Regions from separate parts of the Homo sapiens genome. Here region 1 is linked to region 2. The links are contacts of gene promoters, found by promoter capture Hi-C in blood cells and fetal thymus (Javierre and others, 2016). All regions are on one chromosome and are shown on one strand. The core of a region is centred on a gene start or on the middle of the fragment in contact, and the rest is flanking DNA. Distances in the headings are between cores, read along the strand shown.

Region 1 (3,047 bases), core at 107-2,606, 41 kb after region 2:
CCCAAGATTCAGTCACCTCCCAGCAGGTACCTCCCTCAACACCTGGGGATTACCTTTTGAGATGAGATTTGGATGGGAACACAGAGCCACCCAGAAAAGAAAATGGATTTTCTTTCTCATTAAGAAGCTATTTTATATCTTCTTAGTGAGGGCTTTCCTGGCTGATCTACTTAAAATTACAAGCTACCTCCCCAGCTCATGATTCTCAAATGTCTGGGCACTGCCCTACAGTTATTATGTTTTCTATAAGCCTTATTTTCTAACATGCTGTATAATTTGATGACTTATTATGTCTACTGCTTATTGCCTGTCTTCTCCTTGTACACTGGAAGTTGTACAAAGGCAAGGGATTTTGTTTTGTTTCCTGATGTAACCCAAGGGTCAAATAGGGATTCAATGAATATTTTTGAATAAATTAATGTGAAATTGATGTTGGATGTCAGCAGAGATGGGATGTCCATAACAAGGTGTGTAGTCAGCCTCACCAGCTCCTGAGAGATCCCTTCCTTCACTCCTCCCCAGGCTAGAGACTGGGTAACTTATAAAGGAAAGAAGTTTAATTGACTCACTGTTCCTCATGGCTGGGGAGGCCATTATAGACATAGTAGCAGCCCCCAGAAATACTCAAAGCCTAAGACTGAATTTCTGAGGGGTCCCTGAGAGGAGGATTCACTGATAAGAGTGAATGAGAATGACAGGGGTTGAGTCCAGACCTCATTACCAAGAATGCTGCCCAGAGGTGCTTCAATCCCATCCCAGCCTCTGCGCTCATCAAGCAGGGAACAAAAAAGATACAGGCCTTCACACTTCTCCTAGCTGGGGACACTGATGATTCCATGAAAATGTGAGCTCACAGGGGAAATAAGTGAGACATCCGAGGAGAACAAGTTGTGCAAAAGAAAATTCACTTACTGAAAACGTATATCTGAACACACAGCATTTACAAAAATTTGTAATCATATGGTAAGTCAGAAGACAAATTTAGGTAAGTCTCAACAAATTTAAAAAAGCTTGTATCATTCAGACCACATTCTCAAACTATAATGCAATTAAATTAGAAGTTAATTAAAAAATTAATTGAAAAAACTGCCTTATTTGAAAACTTTATTAAGGGAACTTGCTACTCACTTTCTCTATAGGACGTGATGAGATAACAAACAGAACTGTTTTTACTGTAAGAATAAAACAGATGTTTTTAAATCTCAAAAATTCTTTTATCCTTCTTAGTAAGTTCCTAAGCTACTTATTAAAGTATTAATAAGTTCTTAGGCTACTTATTACTGTATTAATAAGTAATACTTATTAGCATAGGATCTTGTTAGTTCCTGAAGAACAATCCTTAAGATTTTCAACAACTTTCATTCAGAACAATCTTGAAGATTTTATATTTTCTTTTCTGATTTCTTCTTTGATTTTGGAAACAAGAAATAGAAAAATGAAGACTAAAAAACAAAAACTTCAAAAAAAGTGTGCAACTTTTGTTGAAAACTAAACTATGTTCTTGAGGTGGGAAAGGATGCGCTTACTAACACCGGACAATAATTAAAATCTTGAGATCATTTTTCACCTGCCTTCTTATATTTTAATGATTTACGTTGTCCTAAATTCCACATAGAATGTGGAGGAAATCAAAAGGAATGTAGATAACAATTTAAGGCTTAAGTCCTAAATTTCTATTGGGTCTCAAACTCTTCCTTGAACTCAAGCTTTTTATATCTATCTACCTACTTAAGCTTTTTATGTATGGACATTTCCCCTTGGATGTGTAATAGGCATCTCAAACTCAATGAATTCAAAATTACACTCTTGACCTCCAGCCCCCGTAAACCTGCTCTTACTTTGGTCTTTCCATTTCACCACTACTCTTTCACTTGTTTAGGCCAAAAACGTTGGAGTCATTGTGGATCCTTCTCTTTTTATTAAATTCTGCATGCACTTTAGATACAAATACTGTTGGCTTTACCTTGAAAATATTCCTCAATCTGACAATCTTAGCATTTTCACTGCCACTTCTTTGGTCAGTGCCACCATCATTTTTACCCTGGCAAATGGCACTGTCTAGTGTCCCTGAATCCATCATGTGCTTTTATAATCTGTTTGCTACTCAGCAGTCAGATCATGTTATGAACCTGCTGAAAACCCTTCTTATCACAGGGACCCGCAAGGCTTCCATAGCTTGGTTAGCTGCTTCTCTGATCTGATCTGTTTCTACTTTCCTTCTCCCTCACTGTCTCCAGCCACACTGGCCTTCCTGGTGTGCCTAAAACAGGTGCAGATCCTTCCTACCTACCTCAAGGTCTTGCGCTTATTGCTTCTTCTACCTGAAACTTCTAGAGACTTCCACAGCTTCCTCCCTCCCTTTAGTTATTCTGCATGAATACCCTGGACCCAGTATGTCCTTTTCCTAAACATATTTTTATAAAATGGCACTCCAACGTTCTTTATTACTTGCACTGCTTTATTTATTTTTTCAAAGCACTTTCACTATCTTTCATTATAGATCTCTATTCATTTGAATATTGTGTGTCTCTTTAATGGAATGTAAGCTCCTTGAGGGCAGGAGTTTATGCAAGAAAGCAGCTGAGCATAGGTTGGTGCCAGCACAAAGTAGGCGCTTAGTAATTATTTTCTAGTGAATTGAGAGTGAATATTAAGGATAGAGATGGGGGGGTAGCTAGATCCTTCAAAAAGGCTGAATTGGCTGTTTGTAAAGATGAACTAATTTTAGAAATTAAGCATTTCAAAAGAAACCACTGATAAAATTACTCACAGAAATTGCTGATTCATATATGGAAATACATTTAAAATCTGGCAAAGTGACATGCTACAATCATTGAGCAGTCTGCAGTTCAAGTGGAATGGGCTGTAATGGGACTTTTGACATCCATTCTCTATAGAGGCAGCTGTAAACACATTTAATACCCAACTCAAAAACTCACATTGTTTATCACTGCATTACAGACCTGGGACTTTCCAAGAATAAACAAATTGCTAACTATTTATACAGACATTCTTTTTTTTATGGACATTCACTGCAAATGATCTGA
Region 2 (2,872 bases), core at 47-2,546:
CTGCCAACCTTCACTCTAAGTAAAGAAACTAAACGCAGAGTACTCTTTCTGGAGAATTCATTAGGTGGAACCATATAAAACTACTGTTTTGGAGATTTTAAAAGTTAAATACTAGTAACTTTATGTGGTTCAATCTAACTTATTATAACTGGAACTTTTTAAAAGTCTAAGTTAATGTGAATTAAAAATTGACTTTTCTTATGCTTAAGGCCTAAATTTACAAATAATAGTTATAAGTAATCATCCCATTAGTTAACCAAATAATAATTAGTAGACTGCTTATATTTATTAGACTGCTTATTAAGAAGCATATTGCAAGGAACATGATTTTTGAACCAGAAGCACTTGTCCTTGATTTCTATCTCTACCACTAATAAGTACACTAATCAGTTTAACTTTGGTTTCCTCTTTTTATAGAACTAAGGATTAAATGACACAATGTCTATATAAGTACTTTATAATCTACAATTGTTACATACATGCTAGTTGGTTTTGTTATCACCTCATTTACTTACTAGAATACCCCATGAGGTATAAAACACATAATATTATTTTTTCTACTGGACACATGAGAAAACAAAGTCAGATGTTAATGCCTTGTCTATTGTCATTGACTTGTTGGAGAGTTGTAATTTCTACCCATGTTTTCTGACTTCAGATATCTCCATTACAAACAGTATTGTAAATACACAAACAGTATATTTACAGGTTGTATCTTAAGAGGCAATATTCTGTATACTATAGAAAAAGAATCTCAAGTTATAATAAATAAAAATAAGAACTTAATTTAAACAATGTTTCAGGTATTGTGTTGAATGCTTCACAACACCCTCATTTGGTTGATACCATTCTTATCTCCAACTTCCAAATTGGAAACCTGAAGCTTAGAGAAGTTTGATGACCTTCCTGAGTCTATCTACATAGTGAGTGGAGGGTTGGAACTCAAGCCCGATTTGAGCAGATTCTGAAACCTGCTTTTAATGGCTACTTGATGAAAACATATATTGCTTTTATAATCCGAAGAACCACCCCAAAGAAAATTCCACTGCAATGCTAACATGGGAAGGGAAATAATTGAAAAACACATTTCTTAATGCAGATGGCAAAAGAATGGAACCCTAAGTAAGTGGGCTGTGACATACCTGAGCCTGTTCCCACTGTAGCTCACTCATGCCTCCCGCCTCCTGAGGCAGCGGCAGGGCCAGGCTGCCAGGCAGCAGGCACACAGCACACAGCACGGTGAGTCGCATAGCTGCCGTCCAGAGACAATTGTTCTTGGACCTATGGTTGATTTGGTGTTTTCTGCTAGTGACTGCAGAAATTTATATAGCTTCTCAGCCTCGAATGTGGAAATAGGTGACTCATTTGAGTGTTTTCTTTCTTTTTAGAGTCTACAGAACTTTGAAAGTATGTGTTATTTTTCATTAACTAAAACGAGGAAGTATTACATCGTTATTGGCAGGAAGCACACAATGTATTTGTCTTTCAAAGGATTTTTTTTTCTGTCTGCTGCATAAATTGACTCCATGAGAAACCTCATTTTTTTGCCAAAGTCAAATGACTGCTCTCATAGGTATCATTCAGGACATTATGGTACCATATATTCTTAAAGAATAATATATATTCTTAAATATATATTCTTATTATATGGTACCATGTATTCTTAAATACATGGTACCATATATTCTTAACAATTAAAAGGTTTGGAAAAGTGCACAAAACATGTAAATAATGAAATAATAATTAAGCAAATACTGTAACCGTCACCAAAGTCAAGAAATAGAACATCACCAAAATCCTGTGGTTCTCCATACAGGGGAAAGATGGCAGGAGGCAGATGGAAATGCTGCTGTGTGGCTGGATTAGTGGCCACTCTATATACAACTGTGCTGTGTCCCCTCACCTTCCACGTCCCTTAGCAGAGCAGTGATAATTCCCTTCTTTGGGTCTCCTTTTAATCAGTTTATGTCTTTTCTTAATGGGGAACACTGCCTCTAATTCTTCTTGAATTAAACACAAAAAAATACCAAGCCAACAAAAATCTACAAGCACGGGTTTAACTCTTCATCTGGCTTACTTATTCTGCTTCTCATTTTATAGTAACAGATTCTTCCAAGGCTAGACCTTCAACTTGGAGATCCAATTTTTTTCTTCCAATCACTCTGACTCTGGCTGCTGCCCAGCTACAGGTAGGGCTGCATTGGTCCTTAGTACACAAAATGGTTATTCTACGTATAGCAGTAAGAATCCATTACCTACAGATTCTAGCCCAATGACTCCATTCTTACCAAAAATGAAAGTGAGGCCAAGATGATAATTTAACTTATTATACTTCTCCCAGCTCACACAGATAGTAGCTCAGTGCTTTTTCTATCCCACTGCACTGCCTATTCATTTTGTAATAGGTCTGTCTCTTTTATTATATTATACATTACTTGGGAGAACACCATGGCTTTTGACTCTAATACATCATGGGAAACACTCCAAATATGCTGGAGCTAAAAAATTTAATTAATCACATATCACTTCAATTACATGGTAATTGAGCACTGTGAGCCAGCAAAGGTAAAATTTTCAGATCAGTTAATTAAATTTGCTCTCTTTACAGAGATGTCTTGATTCTGTACGGTCACAGTTTAACTAGAGTAATTGGTATCCTTAGTCAGAGTTTGACATGTGATAAGGTGCACCATAAATATTTGTAGAATAATGAATATTTATGAACTTTACTTGAATAAGCTAAAAATGGAATTATATCACGTTTTTGGTAATATTTGCATTGAATTAAAATCAAAAGGCATTTCCTCAAGTGAATGAGCACACAAGCCACAAATTGGGTGAAAATGAATGCAAAGACACATCCATGGCCAGG

Evidence for each region. The method cuts DNA at HindIII sites, captures the fragments that hold promoters and counts their contacts. A CHiCAGO score of 5 or more calls a contact.
Region 1: a fragment that was not itself captured here is called in contact with the fragment with the promoter of MMP7 in region 2 in 3 of 17 cell types (naive B cells, M1 macrophages and M0 macrophages); the score reaches 6.4 in naive B cells.

What each region holds. Positions count from the first base shown.
Region 1 is chr11:102,569,948-102,572,994 of GRCh38, forward strand. No RefSeq gene overlaps it. Among named protein-coding and RNA genes, the nearest start is that of MMP7, 41 kb to the left of the region's middle. The HindIII fragment of the contact is 696 bases long and covers 1,009-1,704 here.
Region 2 is chr11:102,529,451-102,532,322 of GRCh38, forward strand. MMP7 (matrix metallopeptidase 7) reads right to left here and starts at 1,297. Exons shown (of 6, transcript NM_002423.5): 1 at 1,143-1,297. The coding sequence starts at 1,250. The HindIII fragment of the contact is 6,591 bases long and covers 882-2,872 here.